Linked DNA regions of Homo sapiens: region 1 is linked to region 2. Evidence: promoter capture Hi-C in human tissues and cell types (Jung and others, 2019). All regions are on one chromosome and are shown on one strand. Each heading gives the region's core, a stretch centred on a gene start or on the middle of the fragment in contact. The rest is flanking DNA. Distances are from core to core; before and after follow the strand shown.

Region 1 (5,324 bases), core at 835-3,334, 330 kb before region 2:
TAAACTGGGTGACAGAGTGTACTGTACACGGGAACTCTATACTATCTTCTCAATTTTCCTGTGAATCTATCACTGTTCTAAAAAGTAAAGTTTATTAAAAAAAAAAAAAAAAGTTTGAGCTCTCACTTTCCCCTCCCCACATCTTATGTTTAGGGCCTGTTATGGGTTGAATTATTTACCCCCAAAATGCATATGTCCAAGTCCTAACACCTAGGACCTCAGTATGACTTTATTTGGAGGTGAGGTCTTTACAGAGGCAATCAAGTGAAAGTGGGGTCATTAGAGTGAGCCCTAATCCATTATGACTAGTGTCCTTATAAAAAAGAGCTATGCACAGAGGGAAGACACAGAGAGAAGATGGGCATCTACAAGGCCAAAGGGAGAGGCCTAGAACAAATCTTTCCTTCACAACCTGCAGAAGGACTCTGACAACATTTTGATCTGGTCTTCCAGACACCAGAACTGGGAGATGATAAATTTCTGTTGTTTAAGCCACCTGGTTCGTGGCATTTTGTTACGGCAGTCTTTGCACGCTAATAAAGGGGCCAAAGAGGAGGGGTTCAACTCATTTGCACCAGAGCAGAAGGATATAGGAGCTGGTGCTTTGAGTTGGAAGGGGCAAAGACCTAAACCATGTAAGCTGATTTCTCAGTGTTATGAAGCGGGGTGGAGGCTTGGAGTTTCTTTGAAATCCTTGCCCCACTTACACAGGGCTTCCCAGACATTGGGGTGTTATCATGGTTACATTCTGCAAGCTGCAGCCTCAAACCCTGGAAGAATGTCTGTGACAAAGCTTGCAGATAGTAAATCAGGCCACCAGGAAAGGAGATCCCCTGGATTTCGGTGTCCCAAAGGCACCAAGAAGGATAATGACCACAAGTGATGGAGAAGGGGCCAGCCGGACACGGTGGCTCACGCCTGTAATCCCAGCACTTTGGGAGGCTGAGGTGGGCAGATCACGAGGTCAGGAGATTGAGACCATCCTGGCTAACACGGTGAAACCCCATCTCTACTAAAAATACAAAAAATTAGCCAGGAGTGGTGGCAGGAACCTGTAGTACCAGCTACTTGGGAGGCTGAGGCAGGAGAATGGCATGAATCTGGGAGGCGGAGCTTGCAGTGAGCTGATATTGCACCACTGCACTCCAGCCTGGGCGACAGGCGAGATTCTGTCTCAAAAAAAAAAAAAAAAAGGGCCTCCTCTCTCATTTTTTAAGCACCACATAAGTCCCAAGGAGCGTGTTATTATAACCTTATGAAAGAGAATGGTTTCCCTAAAATGTAATTGTGATAAGATTTTTCAACCCTTAAAAGCAAAGGCTCAGACCCACAGTTAATTGAGAAATGTGACTTTTTTTTTTTTTTTATAGAGACGGGGACTTGTTATGTTGCCCAAGCTGGTCTTGAACTCCTGGCCTCTAGCAATCTTCCCACCTTGGCCTTTCAAAATGTTGGGATTATAGGAGTGAGCCAACACATCTGGCCAGAAATGTGACATTTTTGATCCAATGGTTGGGGTTCAAATTCAAGCTTGTTAAACAAATTAAGAAAATCAAAATCACCTATAACACGTCGTCTTATACCCATAACTTTCCAGAACACAGGTTGGCTCCTACAGATAATTTTACAATAGGCAGAATGCTAGCAACATTTTATGAGCTGTGGTATGCTTTCTCTAGGCTGTCTGTGATAGGTTGCCTTCATGGAGAGTCCAAAATCAAGACTGGGACAAGGGGGCTGTTGCTTAAGGCTTGAGCCAGATGTTGGATCTCCCCAGCAAGAGCATAGGTCATTTCTGGGACCTTCCCTTTCATCCTCACCAGAGTTCAACATCCACTCTGACAGGGAAAATGCAGAGGACCTACCATGAGCACATGAAATTCTGAAGCGTAACCCATCAGGCTTCTCCTCAGCCTGGCCCTCAAGACAACTAGGTCATCACTGATTCCAGATTCTCCTTATTCCAGACTCCACCCCCTGCAGTGTTCTACGTCTTCTGAAAGGGCCGGTGCAGGGCGCCCATGACTTGTCATTTTTCCTAGGTCAGCACATCCTTGTTCTCACCACTGGAAGTCAAGGCTGAAAAATCTGATTTGGTTCACCTGGCTTACTGGCACTATTTACTGGTGTGCACAGCAGATTTGATTTATGATAAGTCTGTTGAAAATGTCACTTTGGGGCTTTGAGGTGTGGTGGGGGTCGGGGGTGGATGCTGCATTTTGTTTTGGAAAAGAGGGCAGGACTTTTGCCTATGCTTTTCAAATAGGAGGAAAAATTAAGTTCACGGTTTGATTCCTAAAGAATCAAAAAGTGGAGCTAGATAAAAATCATACCAATAGGCAATTGGGAGATCCCAAGCCTTTTTCTTTTCCAGGAGAAACTTGAGTTTGAGTTTTCAAAATGAACGAAATATTTCCAAGGAAGTAAAAGTGGGCCTCCTTTGCCGGCCATCCCTCTTCCCCCATACCCTCTTCCTCTTTTCTCCTCCCTTCCTTCCCCTTTTCTTTTTTCATCTGCCCTTCAGTCACCATCTGTACTACTGTAGGAAATGGGAAAAAGACCTACGCTAAATCAGCATCCTACTCTACCTCTTACAAAGTCAGGAAAATATCTTTTTAAAAAAATGTTTGAAATTAATGCGCACCTATCCAGATCTCTGTTTGAACAAGGGCTGTCATTTCTGATAAAGGCACGGTTTTCCGAGATCGTGGAGAGCCCAAGTGTGGAGCTTTAAGAACCCTGACAACCACCAGTCTTGTTTCGGGTCATGAGTGCACCATTGGTTACCCTGATGTTGAGTCAGCATTCTCCAGACCACATAAAGGTCAGGTCTATCTTCACAAAGTGAAAGTGCTGAATTATATCGAAACCATAGAAAAAAAAATAAGCCAACCCTGCCTCGAGTCTCTAAGTCTCTGCTCCGACAGTTTTGTTTTTATCTGGAATTACAGTAAACTCATTTCGGCATGGTTGCGGCATGTGGTATTCTGAGTAACTGACTCTTCTACCTAATTGCAAGTTGCCACATACTCTCTACAGCCCTTCTTCCTTTCCCTGCGCCAGCTCCTCTGTCAGTTTCACCCGCTTGGCTGGGTCCAGACTTGTCTCCTTTTCTAGGTGGGGCAATAGATCAGTGGCCTGGGATACACCATGGTAGGTGGGACTTCAGAATTCAGGCACAGGCCAGGCGCACTGGCTTACACTTATAATTCCAGCACTTTGGGAGGCCAAGGCTGGCAGATCACTTGAGGTCAGGAGTTCAAGACCAGCCTGGCCAACATGGTGATACCTCACCTTACTAAAAATTCAAAAATTAGCTGGGCGTGGTGGCGGGTGCCTGTAATCCCAGCTACTCAAAAGGCTGAGGCAGGAGAATCGCTTGACTCCAGGAGGCGGTGGTTGCAGTAAGCCAAGATCGTGCCACTGCACTCCAGCCTGGGTGACAGGTCAACTCTGTCTCAAAAAAAAAAAAGAAGAGTTTAGGCACAAAGTCAACCAGAGTTGGACTGTGTGCATCCTGGGAGTCCTGGAGCCCCTTGGGGAACTCCTGCCCACCCTGTGTTGGGGGCAAAGAGTCAGGAAGGTTTGTGCTCAGATTCTGCCTCTGCTATGGCCTCTGATTACTCTGTGACCGCTGGCAAATTGTGACCTTACCTGTAAAGTGGGGACACTAATACCCCCTCACAGGACTGTTGAAAGAACTGGAGATGATGCATGTAAAATCATTTGGCACAGAGTAGGTGATCAGTGAATGTTGGTTCTTTTCTTGTGTCCTCATCCCCCACATCACAGCCTGCTCAATAATCCGGAGCCATGTCCCAATCTCTCTTCCTCCTTCTAGGATGGTCTCTCCCCGCCTTGGTGCCTATCTCCTCTGAAGGAGGGTGAGCTTCTCCTCCCACTGGGCTGTACAGCTCACCTGGCTGCACTGGCTGCTGAGCTTGGGGCCACAGATTAGTATCCTGGCTGGTTCCCAATGGCTGAATTACACTCACTAATGCCAATTGGTGCCGATGCTGGTCTTAACTTTGCCTGAGTATGCACTGTCCTTTGACCACTATGCCTCAGGCCACCGGGCCTCCTTCCCCAGCCTGGCCTCTGCAGCCCGAGCAGAGCCTCAGGTCACTCCCCATGCTCAGAGGAGCCCCGCATCTCATCTCCCTCGCTCCCTGCCCACCCACCTCCCTGCTGCAGTTCCTGCCTTTGTGCCAAGACCTGCTCCCGTTATGTCACGTGCCCTCCATGGATGGCTAATTTGCAAAGAATCAAAACTCAGAAAACGCATTTATAACTTAACCATATTGAGTCTAACTGTCTCTTTGATCATTTCAAAGGCAACTCAGGACCTTAAAAAGCCTCAGAATTGGCTTCCTAAGCACCAAGCCTTCTGGAAAATGGAAAATACAGGAGTAGGTTTAGGAGAATAATCTGAATGGTACTGGTCCCAAGACACCCCTGAAAATTAGGTGACTTTAAGCAAATTGCTTAATGTCTCTAAGCCTCAGTTTTCTTATCTGAAAGGAAGACAATTATACTTGACTCATGAGGTCTAAGGATCATGTAAATAAAAGGACTTGGTTAATTTTAAAATTCCTGATCTCAGCTTGATGTTTCTATTTTCATAAAAGCAGGGATTTGGGCTTCTTTAGCTGTTTAGACCTTGAGGGGGGAAAAAGGGTTACCTAATTATAATTTCACTATAATATTCCGTTCACGGTCCGGCTCTCTGAACAGACTATTAGCTCCTTGAGGCCAGGTATTGTGCTGGCTACTCTATAACCAGTTAGCACCAGCTGAATGTCCAGCTCAAAGCAGGCACTCAATGAACATTCACTGGATACGTGACTTCACCATGTACGTCACTGTCCTGGCCAAGCCTGGTGATCATGTCTCTATCATATTCTATCTGCAGGAAGAATCCTGTCAGCCTGGCAGAAGGTACATCAAGTGAGGAGAATTACTCCCCTCCCCTACTTCCTACTGCCAATCCCACCAAGACATGGTGAGGACATCCCAGCAAATGCACAGGAGGTCAATAAAATACAAGGAGCTCCCTGATGCCTTCTGGTGCTACTGCCCACAGGGCACTGTGAACTGGGCCAGCTGGGCTTAGGCCATGCAGAATGGCCAGCTGAGGGCAGAGACAGCCTTTCTCCCACCAGTCAGGCAGCTTCTACCACTTGACCTTCCCTATTCCTCCAGGAGGCTTTCTAAAAGACAACTGGTGAAAACGAGGCCTTCATTCACTCCTTCCTTGCTTCATTCATTCTACAAACATGAATTGGACACCTATTATGTCCCAGTGACTGTGTTAGATGTTGAAG
Region 2 (5,257 bases), core at 2,753-5,252:
CAGTGTGGTGATTCCTCAGGGATCTAGAACTAGAAATACGATTTGACCCAGCTATCCCATTACTGGGTATATACCCAAAGGATTATAAATCATGCTGCTATAAAGATACATGCACACACATGTTTATTGTGGCACTATTCACAATAGCAAAGACTTGGAACCAACCCAAATGTCCATCAATGATAGACTGGATTAAGAAAATGTGGCACATATACACCATGGAATACTATGCAGCCATAAAAAAGGATGAGTTCATGTCCTTTGTAGGGACATGGATGAAGCTGGAAACCATCATTCTCGTAAACTATCGCAAGGACAAAAAACCAAACACCGCATGTTCTCACTCATAGGTGGGAAATGAACAATGAGAACTCTTGGACACAGGAAAGGGAACATAACACACTGGGGCCTGTCGTGGGGTGGGGGGAGGGGGGAGGGAAAGCATTAGGAGATATACGTAATGTAAATGACGAGTTAATGGGTGCAGCACACCAACATGGCACATGTATACATATATAACAAACCTGCATGTTGTGCACATGTACCCTAGAACTTAAAGTATAATAATAAAAAAAAAAGAATGCACACATTGTTCTTTCCGGAAGTTTTAACCACTGTAATAAAGAAAAAAAATGACAGGAAGAAATACTGAAATGAAGAAAGAAAATCATTATTATTTTTAGATTATAAGACTGTCAATGTGGAAAGCCAAAGAGAAGTCATTGAAAAAATGTTAGCACCAATAAAAGACTACAATAAAGTGGCCGTCACAAAATAAATTATTATCATTACTATTTTCTTAAACACTTTCTTTTTAAGAGACAGGGTTTTGTCCCACTGCCCAGGCTGGAGTGCAGTGGCACAATCATAGCTTAAGGTCCTGGGCTCATGCCATCCTCTCACCTCAGCCTCCCACGGAGCTGGGGTTACAGGTACAAGCCACTGCTCCTGGCAAAAATAAATTCTATTTTGAAAACAAATCCCTCAATTATCCAAAAATAGCAGGTTATCAAATAAATTTTAGTATCTCTGTATAATTAAATAGTACTATGTAGCCTTTAAAAATAATAAAAATCGAATTGCATGAAAATATTTTCACTATATGTGACAAAAAGCAGTTTATTTAAAAAGTACCAAAGTAAATATGTACCTATGCAAGTAGAAAAATTAATAAGATACATACCAAGATATGAACAGTAATTATCTTTGCACAGTAAGATTATAATGGAACTTTATTTTCCTCTTAGTTTTTATCTATATTTTTCAAACTTTTAACATTCAAAATTAAGTTTACTGTACTATTTACTGAATAATTTGCCAAAAATCAATTGCCAATAATATGAATAATGTGCAATCTCACAAAAAATAAAACAGCACGTTAAATCAAAAAAGCACATAACATCTAGATGAAACTCATGATCTTGGATTAGATCTCAGTTAAGACAGACTTGCTATAAAACATATTCAGTAACAGAAGGAGGGGCAGATTCTATGATGGACCAGCCATTAGATGCTATTAAGAAATAAATTGTAATTTTTTATAATGTTATTTGGCTATTTTAGGAAAATGTAATTTTTTTAGAGATAGAGAATAAAGCTTTTAGAAATAGGTTTCCAGAATGCCTGTTATTTTTACTATAAGATATTTAAGCATAAAAAGAGGAAGGGGGTCAAAGGAGGACTCTTGTTTCTTAAAAGATTTTTTAAAAGGCAAGATTTTTTTTTCACCTATCAAATAGGGAAAATTAAAAAATATAATATCCAGGTTGGTAGGTGGAAACTAAAATAAGAACCCTCATTTACTACTTAGGCAGGAATGAAAAATTAGTACAAGCTTTCTAAAGGGTAATTTGGTAATTTACATAAATTTCTTAAAAATATACCTTCCTTTATTTTAGCAATTCCACTACAAGGAATTTTCTAAAGAAATAGTCAAAAATAACACACAGAAGATATGACTATAAGGATACTCATGACATAATGAAATATTGAAAAAATCAGAATGTCTAGTGTAGAAAATGATTAAATCAGTTATGTATAATTAAATAATAGCCTCAAATACTGTACTTTGAAAAAATGATAATGTTAAATGAATACAGTAATAGAAAATTATGGCCGGGCGCAGTGGCTCACGCCTCTCATCCCAGCACTTTGGGAGGCCAAGGCGGGTGGATCACGAGGTCAGGAGATCGAGACCATCCTGGCTAACGGTGAAACCCCGTCTCTACTAAAAAAAAATACAAAAAAATTAGCCGGGCGTGGTGGCGGGCGCCTGTAGTCCCAGCTACTCGGGAGGCTGAGGCAGGAGAATGGCGTGAACCCGGGAGGCGGAGCTTGCAGTGAGCCGAGATCGTGCCGCTGCACTCCAGCCTGGGCGACAGAGCAAGACTCCGTCTCAAAAAAAAAAAAAAAAAATTATATATGTAGTAAGACTCTAATTTTGCAAAATATGATTAAAACCTGACATATACGTAAAAGCTAGAGGACAAACAATGTGATGAAATATACCAAATACTAATAATAGTGGTTCTCTGAATCTCTGAATTATAGATGAATTTAATTTTCTTTCTTATACTTTCAGATATCCCTAAAATGTCTCATTTTGAATGTCCTTTATAATCCAAAAAAGTTATCGTAAGGCAATTTAAGAGTTGTCTTTATAGCTGTGTGAAAATATTTTATATTTAAAGAAACGTGCTTGTTTTATTTGGAATATTAAAATATAAAGATGGAGAACTTTCAGATAATAGTAGATAACTGGCATTCACAGATGAGGACCTACCCTACAGGTCCCCGGCAACCAGACCCACGGTGTCTGGGTTCATGGGACTGAAAATCAGTCACCAGGTGGAAAAGCTGGTCAGCTGTCCTTATGGTATCCTGCCACAAAAACGCAATATTCCTCCAGAGGCGTTCATACCCTGAGGCAGTTCCTAGGGAATACACTAAATGAACAAGATAGTAACTTTTCTATTTATTGGGAAAAAAGGAGGGAAAAATGGGAAGATGAGAGTGGAAGATTAGAGAGTTCACAGTTTTTTAAAGAAAGTAAAAATAAACAGGTAAATGCTCTTGATTTTTTAAATGCATCAAATAAAAAGGGTGAGGAAATAGATGAAATAAGCTACATTTCAGAAAAAAAGGGTAGACAAGACCTATGAAAATTAAAACTACAAGGAAGAAGAGAGCAGAAAAAAAATTAAGTGAAATAAGTGGAGGAAAGATCACATAATCAAGTTAACAAATAGGCAAGAAAAACATTGTTTCATTTGTCAAACTGAAGGTGGAAGGACCTGGAGGAAGGCAATTGCTACACTGTGCCAGATTCAAGCTTGTGAAGGGGCTTGGTCCCGGCCACTTCCTCCATTTAATAAATGTTTATTCAGAGTCTATTTTTCTGCCAGTGCCATGCTACGCACTAGGCACCAGGGATATAAATATGAATAGGACTGACATAATTCCTGCTTTCAAAAAGCTTATGAATTAGGGACAGACACAGACCAGCAAACTGTTACAGTGACAAACGACAAGGGAGATCAAACACACGTCTGCTGTAAAAACATATAATAAATAGGTGCCATATCAGTGGTATATAAAAATTACTGTTAAATGTTACTGAAAACAATAAACTAGAGAAAGACGAAAAGAGAAAATTCGCTGGGCCAAATCAGAAGAAATAAATAACATTAGTTTTGTTCCTTAATTATCACCACAAGCGCTAGTTGTTTTCTATCTTTTCAAGACAGCTGTAAAGACGCTGCTCTTCATCCTGCTCGTGAAATTCAAAGGACATTTGCAACATCTACAAAAAAAACCACTTCAAATCATTTTGCAAAAATTTCAAGGAAACATTACCTATTTCCTATATAATGAATGGTTAGCAAACTTGCTTACTTGAAGCACCTGTGCCATAATGTGAAAAAGCCACAGAAGTCTTTCTACTTACCAAGATCTCTTTTTCAGAAGAAGAGAAAATAACTTGTAAATGAACGGAAATACAATTGAAAATGCTTGACAAACACAAGTTCTTAAAGTTGAGTAAAGCGGTACCTTAGAAACAGATTGGTGCCATCTGTTGGCCCACACTGGAATTACTCCTACGTATATTTTTACCTTTCAAAGGTCCGGAGGTGAGTTAGCAGTTTTTTCTGGGCTACAGACAAAACCAGTAATCCAATTTTCTAATTCGTGTGAGGAAGCAACTTACAAACAATTCAATGTGAAGAAAAATATTTTTCTAAGGTAATATTTCTCTGTAAGAGTTTGCAGCCTGGTTATTACATTTGTCACCTGAGTGGAAAGTTATTTTAAACAGCCTGTTTTCTATTATCACCATATTTAACATTTCAAGAATAATTGCAGTTTCCCTTATCAAGCAATTTTGAGCATTATTTTAGCTGGATGAGATAGTTTAAAATAAAATAAGTATAGTTCCACAATTTGGGTTTTTTTTTAAAAATCAACTTCTAAGGAAAGTTTACTGGTTGATACATATTTATGACTACATATTTAGCCATATGTACGAGCAATCATACCCACATTCTGATCAACATTTGGTGTTATTAAATGGTTTAGATTTTAATTTAGGAATAATAAATAACACTGAAATCCTGCAAGACTAATTTAAAAATCAATTTTCTAAAGACCATTTAGAAGAATTTCAGAATGACATCAACAAAGGCTGATTACCAGAAGTCTCTGGTTAAACAGAGACTTCTGGTGGACAGTAAACCCTTTTCCCCAGACTTCTTGCTTAACTGAGTTCTGCAAAGGACAGAAGGCATGAGTGAAACAATCATTCTATAATTTATCTCACTGTCTGGCACAATCTCATCTTTATTAAAAAAAAAACAACAACAAGTTAAGACCTTACAATTTGGCTAATGACAAAGTTGGACATCTCCGTAAGAATCACTTCTGCTTTCAGGAGGAAGAGAAAGGCTGGCTTCTTGTGATTCATCCTTACTCATCAAACATAACAGGAAGTCTCCTCAGGCCTGGGGAGGCTCAGTAAGGAGTGGATGGATCTCTGCTCCACTGGCAAAAGGAGACAGCCAGAAAGCAGCAGGTATCTGTGACCCTGGAAAACCAGATTTGTGAAACAAGCCAAGGGAAAGGGCTGGCTGTGGCTCTGAGGGAATTTCAAGTAACCGTGGACTAAAGTCTTAAGAAAACAGACAACTATCACTGCAGATCTGGGCACATTGACATGTCTCATTAGGAGATTGCATCACAACACCAATGTTCAGAAACAAGG

What was found. Contacts are between HindIII fragments. The study calls those that stand out against the background at their distance.
Region 1: a fragment that was not itself captured here is called in contact with the fragment with the promoter of TLR6 in region 2 in 1 of the 25 tissues and cell types used here (dorsolateral prefrontal cortex).

What each region holds. Positions count from the first base shown.
Region 1 is chr4:38,521,238-38,526,561 of GRCh38, forward strand. It overlaps LINC01258 (long intergenic non-protein coding RNA 1258), which reads right to left and starts at 1,943. Exons shown (of 8, transcript NR_110951.1): 1 at 1,866-1,943. RefSeq lists an enhancer at 3,117-3,166. The HindIII fragment of the contact is 4,596 bases long and covers 1-4,382 here.
Region 2 is chr4:38,852,815-38,858,071 of GRCh38, forward strand. TLR6 (toll like receptor 6) reads right to left here and starts at 4,003. Exons shown (of 2, transcript NM_006068.5): 1 at 3,947-4,003. RefSeq lists an enhancer at 4,452-5,257. The HindIII fragment of the contact is 6,137 bases long and covers 2,583-5,257 here.